Linked DNA regions of Homo sapiens: region 2 is linked to region 1. Evidence: promoter capture Hi-C in human tissues and cell types (Jung and others, 2019). All regions are on one chromosome and are shown on one strand. Each heading gives the region's core, a stretch centred on a gene start or on the middle of the fragment in contact. The rest is flanking DNA. Distances are from core to core; before and after follow the strand shown.

Region 1 (4,867 bases), core at 952-3,451:
CAAAAAAAAAAACTGCTCACAAAAAAGTTTTTAAATCTTAGCAGATGGACACAAACCATACTTTGAGAACCATGTTCCACAGTGCCAATACAGGAAGTTTCTAGATAATGGCAGCTCATTTTTTAAAAATGGCACTACACTATACTGTATTCACATGCCAGCAAAACTGTTAAGGTAAGTTCATGTCACTATTAAAATAAAATGAATTCTGGGAATTTTGTTGATATTCAATTTTAATCTTAATTATGCAAAGATCTGTTACTTAACTAAGACTATGTAACATAATATAGCATATGACTTCTGGATAATGAAAATAATCCTAAACTTAACCATAAAAAAATAAGGGTATGAAAGTCAAAATAAGGTAGAAAATGACTGCACCAAATAGCCAACAACCTTAAAAAGGGTAGGATTTTTTTAAATCACTAAATTAAGATTGGTTCATTGCATTTAGTACATCTCTTTTATGAAGAGGAGTTATAAGCTACAGAATCAATAAATTATGTTTTGATATAAATTTTTCACCCTTAAAGTTCCTAGCTAGGAGGAAATTATTCTTTTACACTTACACGTTTTAGATAGAATGGCTATAAGTAAGCACAGATAAATGAAGAAATGAAAGAGAAGGGAAAAATAGAGATGGTTGATTCTGCCTCTGCAATTGCTAATTCATAAACATCAAACTTTCCCAGTGTACACTGTCTTCTTTGGGAATTTGCTCCATCTTTTTCCTTAAACTGAAAGGTGGCTTACTGAGGCTATCACTTTCCTAAAGGTCTCCCCAATACTGCCTAATTATTTTCTCTTATCACAGGATACAGGGTGGATGTCCATCTACTTCCTTGTTGTCACTTCCCAGATCACTTTCACTTTATGCTCTTCTAAAATTAAAACAAAGATCATCGACCACAAAACACAATTGTTCTTTTGTAGCTCATGCTAGAATACCCTCTTTGTTACATCTCCTTCATTTTTCTGATCCAAAATTTAGTAGCCTACTATATCTCACCCACTGTCCTTCTTTCCTCCAGCTATGGTAGAGAACTGCTCCTCCAACTTTATGTACATTTGAATCACCTGGGAGTTCCTGTGAACTTCGGGTTCTGATTTAATAAGGACACCCAAAGAGTCTGCATTTCCTGTAACTCTCAAAAGAAGCTGTGGAGTACTCTGAATAGCAAAGCACTGTAAGTGCTGTTTCTGTTAGTATCTAATCTATTAGTCCTAATCTCCCATTTATGCTTTGGCACTCATTCCCTCCTGCTTTCGGTATCTTAATATCTATCATTCCTTCACTCTTCCCTCAGGTTCCCTACATAGTTTATCTCTACCCCCTCTAAGCCGCTCAGTATCGCCCATTAAAGAACTAAACCAAAACTAGAAAACCCTCATTTAACCCTTCACTCCCCCTACATACAATCTGATGTGTCTCTCATCCACAGCTAAACTTGGAAGAAAAATTGCCTGCTTGAGGATGCCATTTTGTTATCTTCAGCTCAATCCTGTACCCACTTCAATGTTATTTGCAGGCCCATTACCCCAACACTGCATTCACGAAAGTCATCAGTGACTACACATTGAGAAAACAAGAATGACATTTTCAGTTCTCAACTAATTTGAATTTCTCAACAGTATTCAATATTGTTAATTACTCCCAATATTTTTCCACATGGTCCTCCATGACACAATACATAATAGTCCCCTTATTATCTATATTCCTGTCTATTGTAAAGACTTCCCCCGCACACCAAAAAAGGTCAAGGAAACTCCTAGCCTTCAAGTCTCAACTCAAATCTGGCCTTCTGAAGCCTTCCCAACTAGGAAAATATACAGTCCCATTGGTTGTCTACCAGTTGTCTACCAGTTAATTGTAATTCTTAGCCACAAGTTAGCTGACCCACCGTCTCTCAAACAGGTGAAGTTAAGCTCAATATTTGGCATATCTTGATATACTTTGTACAGTCTAGCTACAATAAGTTTGCCTATGCACGAAGATGGCTACCGGCGGGGGGGGGCGTCCTTACGTCCTACGTCATCACGTGCCGGGATGAGGGTGGGGCCCTCAAGGAAGACGGAATGGAATCCAGATGGGCGGGGGCAAGCAGGACGGGGCGGGGCTACGCGGGATCTGGGCGGGGCGGGGCCGGTGAGGGGTCGGGGGTGCTCCTGCTATTCAGCCGGTGCGCGCGGCGGCGGGAGGCAGTGGCTGGGGAGTCCCGTCGACGCTCTGTTCCGAGAGCGTGCCCCGGACCGCCAGCTCAGAACAGGGGCAGCCGTGTAGCCGAACGGAAGCTGGGAGCAGCCGGGACTGGTGGCCCGCGCCCGAGCTCCGCAGGCGGGAAGCACCCTGGATTTAGGAAGTCCCGGGAGCAGCGCGGCGGCACCTCCCTCACCCAAGGGGCCGCGGCGACGGTCACGGGGCGCGGCGCCACCGTGAGCGACCCAGGCCAGGATTCTAAATAGACGGCCCAGGCTCCTCCTCCGCCCGGGCCGCCTCACCTGCGGGCATTGCCGCGCCGCCTCCGCCGGTGTAGACGGCACCTGCGCCGCCTTGCTCGCGGGTCTCCGCCCCTCGCCCACCCTCACTGCGCCAGGCCCAGGCAGCTCACCTGTACTGGCGCGGGCTGCGGAAGCCTGCGTGAGCCGAGGCGTTGAGGCGCGGCGCCCACGCCACTGTCCCGAGAGGACGCAGGTGGAGCGGGCGCGGCTTCGCGGAACCCGGCGCCGGCCGCCGCAGTGGTCCCAGCCTACACCGGGTTCCGGGGACCCGGCCGCCAGTGCCCGGGGAGTAGCCGCCGCCGTCGGCTGGGCACCATGAACAGCAGCAGCGCCAACATCACCTACGCCAGTCGCAAGCGGCGGAAGCCGGTGCAGAAAACGTGAGTGTCCCGAGCGCGTCCTCATCGCGGGGGCTGGGCGCTCAGGCACGCGGGTGCGGGAGGCAGCCCCACCCCGCCCCCAAATCCCTGCGATCCTGGGATTAGGTCCATTCCCGGCACTGCCCGTGGAATCGAGGTTTGGAGGCCGGCTGGGAGACAGAGGACTTGGATTCTCCCGTTTTCAATGATTGCATTTTAAAAATTGTCCTCCCACCCATCCTCTTCCCCCGCACCAGTGCATACACACCCTCTCACATTTGCAACTTTGTTCTTTCTGATTTGGTCCTGATTTGTTGACAGCTCTGATCTGCCTTGGGCTAATGGATTAGTTAGTATAAACCTGTCTTGAAATCTCCTTCCACTTTTCATATCCGCATGGGTTAGGTTAGAGGACGGTCTTAATTCTCATTCTTCGTAGAGTTTGGTAAGGCGAGATGTTTTAAAGAGCTAAACACATGCTGACTTTTACGAAGGGGCTGAGTGCCTCTAAAGGTACTTTTTGGTCCCCACCAACTGGCTTTGTGTTGCGCTCATATTTACTTATTTGGCAGCAATTTTGTAGCGCTCATCGTGACCATATCGGTAAAGTGGATAGAAGTGGTAGCAGGTGGGAGTGGATGCAACGGACAGGATACGGTGGAGGATTTGTATTCTTCAGACATCTTTTTCGGAAGCTTGCTTATCACTTTTGGGGTGGCTTTAGGGTCTGTAAAATAAAAGATTTAGAACTGCATTTGAGAGAGGTTTTCATTCTTAACATCTACCTCTAATTCTTTTCCCCTTCAAAGTTTTCTTCTAGTTGAGTGAGTACAAACTTGCTTTTGTCGTTGTCGGTTGATTTTGGTGGAATATTTGTGTGAGATGGCCAATTTTTTGTGTGTGTCAGAAAAAACTATCCGTGCTCAAAACATTTCCTGTTGTGAGGTGGTTGTATTCATGTGTTTATTCCAATTTTTTTATTTCTAGATCTCTGAGTTACTTTACCTACATGTGTTTCAAGTTTTCGTAAACAATTTTAAGAACTCTTAAACGTCTTCTCAGACCAAATCAGAAGTGTGCATTTTGCTTAGACTCCAACTATCACTAATGGGAACCAGAAAAATAACACTTTAAGATTTACATTTAAAACCAGTTATTGGTTTAAAGTTTCATTCTAAAATTTTAGTTTCCTTTCAGAATTTCAGTTATCATAGTTCTTCAGAAGTATACTTATGAATTGGCATTAACAGAGGATAATAATCTATAAATAGACTGATGAAAATTTGGAAGTTTTATGGTACAGTGTGTCTTAAGGGAATATTGTCAAACCAGCAGTTTTCTACCTTGGCAGTTTGAGACATCGGTTATTAATACTTTTAATTTTGTAGAATGGTTTCTTATATTAAAGTATGTTTGTCTTATTTGACATTGTCATTGATGGTTAAAGTTGGGAGGCATCCCAAATGTCTGTTCTATGTGTTTATTAATATAATAATACACTTAGCATCATATATAATAGGGGTGTCATGGGTTTTATGTGTATGGTGAGAAAACATGAAGATCTCCCTGATGTGTTTTTAAGATACTGGGTTTCAGTTAGGGTGTTATCAAAGGACCTGGATGGCTTTGTAAACAAAAACAAATGCCATAATTTTGTATTCATTACACAGTTTAACATTTATGGATTTTGGTTATTTTGCGTAAAATGTACTTTTTATTAGATTATCCTAATATTATACTTACTTAGTTTTTAATATACTTGTATTAATTTCTTATAATATAACAAAAGTATTTTTTCCATTCACCCACATTTTGTTAGCATAGATGTTTATCAGATCTCTGCTGAGCACCGTATATTGCTTCTAATCATACAGATGCCTTAAATATTACCAGCTTGCTCTGTAAGAATAGGCTAGTGCTGGCATTTTCATTATCAAGTGAAAGTGTTTATATAAATTATTTTTACCTGAATGAAAAATTGTTAACTTTATAATGCAGTTAATCAAAGT
Region 2 (5,151 bases), core at 55-2,554, 600 kb before region 1:
CTCTCAGTATTGCCACAGTAGGGTCCAAGTTTATCTCAATTGCTTACCCTTTTTTTCTTTTTCTTTGTGAAACTGCCTGATTTCAGAAGATGTTTAGCTCAGTAAATATACCAGAGATTTGTTGTTTTGTAAAACAGTCTTTATTCTTTTCTTCCAAATGTGAGATATTCTAAGTGAAATGAAGACTTTTGTCCTTTATGCTTGCTGAAATTTGAATGGCTTGTTTTATAGCAGTCTTTTTTCCCTTTTTCAGGAACTCTTTCCAGTTAACAGACAGAGTGTGGATCATTTTGCTAAATACTTCACTGACGCAGGTCTTAAGGAGCTTTCCGACTTCCTCCGAGTCCAGCAGTCCCTGGGCACCAGGAAGGAACTGCAGAAGGAGCTCCAGGAGCGTCTTTCTCAGGAATGCCCGATCAAGGAGGTGGGAGACCACGGGCAGACATCACCTCAATACACATGAATGAGAGGAATTACATGGGCTGTGTAGCAAAGGCTTTCCTTAACAAGTCTGTCCTATGCTTATTGCTGTAAACTTTGTCCACTTATTCCTACCATTTAAATTAACTCAGCTTCAAAGTATTGATTTAGAATCCTCCATTTTTGTTAACACTCTAGGATGGTCCAGAAATTAATAGTGATTTCCACACAACTGACTTATTTTACCAGGCTGCTATGATTTTCAAAATATTTCATCTGTCAAAGAGATTTGACCATCCACTATCAGTATAGCCCATTATATGGTAGTTTTAAAATTTTGTTGCAGGTTATCTAACCTGATTAAGCATTTGTCTAGTGTTTGGAATTAACACTGGATTTTTTGTTCATCACTCTGTATGAATATGTAACAGGCTTTTTATTTGAAAAAAGTTTGAATTCCTGTCATGGGAAAAGACTAGTTGGATCAGTGACTTGTTTAATCCCACTCACACTTGGAAGAGCTGTGTTTCCCTATAATGTAAAAGCTATATTTTTTATAATACGCATATACATAGTTTATATATACATGCTATAGTTCACAAAGCAATGACTATATCTTTTTTTTATTTTTAGTGTATCTGGAGAGAGCTTTCTATTTGAAGTTTTAAAATCTTTCATGCAACAATTTAAAAATTAATATAAAGCGTCCTTTCTTTTTTTCCACGTGCTCTAAAATGCCTGACCCACACCTCCTTCCATGCTCCAAGCCCTGCTTGGCAGCTCACATGGTTGAAGCCTGGAGAATGTAGGACTGATACTATCCAGCAGGTGGAGGTGTTGGAATGACAAATATTCTTAAGTCTCATGGTATTAAGGATAGCAGTATATTTAATCATATTTCTCCAAGCAAGAATTTGTACATTATTTTCCATGGGGAAAAGAAGCAAACATAAAAAGCCTTGTGATGCTTGTAGATGCCAGGATGTCACACTTTTATGTGGCTTCCTCCAGCCAGCACAGGGACTGGGACTGCCCGGCTCCTTCTGCTTTTGAAGGCTGCTCAAGTCACTGCTGGCATTTCTACACTCCAGGCCAGAAGTCAAGAAAGCAATGTGTTTCCAGCAAAAAAGAAAAGGGAGGGAAAAAAAAGGTGTTACTACTACTCACAAAGTAGTATGCTGGAGATATACGATGACTTTCAATCACTTCTGAGGCCCAAACCTCTATTTATTATTTTATTTTAAAAGGAAAAAGCCTTTCAAATAAATTTTAGGCAAGCCTATATTCCATACTCTCAGGGTTGAGTATAAATTTGCATATTTATACATAATTCAAAGGAGAAAATAAGTTGCTGAATACTGCTGAATTGATGTATATGAAATTTAAAAATTGCCTTTGCACTTACAATTTATTTACAAATTAACTTTTCACTGAGATGGGGCATAAGGATCATCAAAAGTAATCATTGAAGAATAAATTGTGGAGAATGGACCTGTACAAACCCAAGATGGTATCCATCAAGAGGTTTTAAAGTTTAGGGATGGGATAAAAGTTCACAACGCTGTTGCCTTCTTTAAATCTCCAAAAAGTCAAACTGGCTCAAGTATCCCTACTCTACTAGACTCAAAGGGGTTTCTCTATGAGGAAACAAAAATCCTCTCTTACTCCACATTATCCAGCAGCTCCTGGCCAGAGCTAAGCCTATTAATTTTGGGACTAAAAATAAATTTGCTTTGAGAACAAATCATTATAGTTTTTCTCCCTCTTCCAGTCTGAGAATGCAGACAAGGAAAGGAGAAGCTAAGCAGATTGTTTCTTAGCTGCCCCAAAACCTTGATTGACTGGGCAGCTAGCGGGGAGATGGGAGCCCTCCATCTGCCTGTTACTTTCTGACCCCATTTCCATGTAATGTAGGTGGTGCTTTATGTCAAAGAAGAAATGAAGAGGAATGATCTTCCAGAAACAGCAGTGATTGGTCTTCTGTGGACATGTATAATGAACGCTGTTGAGTGGAACAAGAAGGAAGAACTTGTTGCAGAGCAGGCTCTGAAGCACCTGAAGGTAACAGCCCTTAGCAAGGAACTGACCCAGCCAAGGGCAAACTGCAGCTTTTTTTGTTTGTTTGTTTGTTTGTTTGAGAGTGCAGTGGCACGATCTGCGCTCACTGCAACTTTGAACTCCTGGGCTCAAGCCACCCTCCCTCCTCAGCCTCCCAGGTAGCTAGGACTACAGGCGCGTGCCACCACGTCTGGCTAATTTCTTCATTTTTTGGTAGAGATGTAGTCTCGCTGTGTTGCCCAGGCTGGTCTTGAACTCCTGCATTCAAGCTATCCTCCTGCCTTGGCCTCCCAAAGTGTTGGATTGCAGGCATGAGCCACCACGCCGGGCCCAAATTTGTCTTAATTGAGAGTATGACAAATGGGTTCCAACTACAATTACCCTAGACTCAGACTAAACATATACTTCCTAATTTTTTTCCAAGTTTGCACCCAGCGTTCATGAGAACATAGCAGTGAGTAAACTGTCCATGTTACTTTGATCAGGGAAGGCCCTTTGGAAGAGATAAGTATTGAATTGAGTAAGTCTCAGAAAAACAATGGCTATGCCTCAGTGTCAGAAAGTCAAGGATATTTCTAAATGAATGCTTTTTATCCCAGCAGCTCATCAAGATTCCTTCCCTGTACCCACTAAGAGACCAAATATGAGAATCTGCCTATATTAAAGATAATTGCTGGCCTGCTATGTCTAAGGGATATTTCGAAAATGAGGTCATATCCTCATAGAATATCCATTGTATTATTGGACTGTGGCTCTGCCATTGAAAAAATGTGAATCTTCTTCCCAGTTCCCTCACAGGTCGACTATACTGCTTTGTTCCTACTGTTCTGTTCCCCTCACCCCATTGGGCACAATATGATGATAAAAGGTGTCAATCCTGAAAGTCAGTCTTTTCTAAGCAACCCTCCAGGTTACTGTTATAGTTCCAGCAGTGTCGGCTCTGTACCTCCCACGCAAGTGACGGCTTTTACTCTCCACTTCTGTTCTAGCAATATGCTCCCCTGCTGGCCGTGTTCAGCTCCCAAGGCCAGTCAGAGCTGATCCTCCTCCAGAAGGTTCAGGAATACTGCTACGACAACATCCATTTCATGAAAGCCTTTCAGAAGATTGTGGTTCTCTTTTATAAAGGTATCCATCCACGTGCCACTGCTGTGCTTCTGTGTTTTGCTGAAGCTCTTTGAGAGGCAGAGCAGGCAATGAGGCAGAGGAGGTCATGGGGCTCTGTTTAGAGAGGGACAGCAAGATGCTAATTTGTGAAAGTTTTATTGAGGCAACCATACCATGTAGAGAGAGGAGGCATACACGCCATATATGCGTTGCCTTGGAAACCCTGCTTAGGCCCCTGGGCACTTCTCATTGGTAGATGAACTGGTAATTGTTTCTTGGGGTTGGTGGAAAAAAAATGTAATTATATAAAATTGAGCCTGTTTTTGAATTGTAAGGATTAGCTCTAATAACAATGATTATCAAAATAGTATATATATTATGTTCAGACTCTTTTAGGTACCATAAATCTGACTTTAAAATTACTGAAGTAATTAGCCTTTTTACTTTGTATTTTAGTTACTTGGCCCAGCCATTCTCCTGTTTTCCAAGGGAATGGCTATTTTTAGGTTTTCACATTTACTGTCTTTTCATTGTATTTATAAGGATTAGGTTGCTATGACAACTGGCACTAAAATATGAATGCTAAAGGTTTTAACCGATCCCAATCTGTATACCTACAGCATACAGAAATGTCCTAGGCTATTTTTTGGGCCTACATTTATGTAGTTTTGTGAGGGAGAAAAAGGAACACTTAAGAAGTGGTACATTTTGAACATTATAACATGTTTATTTTATGTTATTATGTTCATAAATATCATATCAGAAAAGTTAAAATAATACCAGCCAAATGTTTATTTTCCCTTTCATGTGTTCCTAAATTTGTCTCTTTTGAATTATATCTTGGGAATTTGGAAAATAAAGGTTTTAGATAAATAATAGCTCTTTTAAAAATGCTTAATAGCATTTCACAATGAATTTTTATTGGCCACGTAGATTCCTCAAATGAATGAATCTTGTCCACAAGTGTTTGGGTGATATTTTACTTTTTCAGGGCACAGAGGTATTCAGCAACAATTATAATAGTCAGGAGGAAAATATGATGGCCACCCATTGCCACTTGAAGTTCAGTAATTGGTATTTTCTCCAACCAGACCTGAGTTGGGTCTTCTTGGATTTAGTCATAAGATAGCAGTGTCCTAAAACTAGGCCCCACCCAATGATACCCAAAGTGATCCACCCATCAGAACCAAACCTGCAAGCCATGTTACCAATTCATAGATGGTACCCAGCAGCCAAGAACGAGAAGTGGGGCCCAACCTTCTGTGGCCACAGCTGGCTCCATTTGTAAAACTGGCAGAGAGACCTATGGGACAGGTTTCACATTTGTTTTGAGGGTGGTCAATTTTTTCCACTACGGAAAACCAAACTGTTCGTAAACTAGTTAGTTACCTGAACATAGTTTGCTTTCTTGTCATATAAAAGATAACCCAACCAGTGTTTCTCACCAATTTTTTTTTTTAACTGAGACATCGTTGTCGGAGTCTCATCTTCAGGAGCACCCTATCGTATTATTGTAATGAAATCACAAAGAATCAGCAAACCCATTGTTACGGGAAATGACATCTA

What was found. Contacts are between HindIII fragments. The study calls those that stand out against the background at their distance.
Region 2: a contact is called between a fragment that was not itself captured here and the fragment with the promoter of AHR in region 1, in 1 of the 25 tissues and cell types used here (small bowel).

What each region holds. Positions count from the first base shown.
Region 1 is chr7:17,296,451-17,301,317 of GRCh38, forward strand. AHR (aryl hydrocarbon receptor) reads left to right here and starts at 2,202. Exons shown (of 11, transcript NM_001621.5): 1 at 2,202-2,879. The coding sequence starts at 2,815. It overlaps LOC101927609 (a long non-coding RNA gene), which reads right to left and starts at 2,870. Exons shown (of 12, transcript XR_007060234.1): 1 at 2,610-2,870. RefSeq lists silencers at 2,477-2,626, 2,677-2,786, 2,827-2,876. The HindIII fragment of the contact is 8,110 bases long and covers 1-4,867 here.
Region 2 is chr7:16,694,581-16,699,731 of GRCh38, forward strand. BZW2 (basic leucine zipper and W2 domains 2) reads left to right here. Exons shown (of 12, transcript NM_014038.3): 8 at 254-424; 9 at 2,335-2,481; 10 at 3,468-3,606. Among named protein-coding and RNA genes, the nearest start is that of BZW2, 51 kb to the left of the region's middle. The HindIII fragment of the contact is 9,548 bases long and covers 1-5,151 here.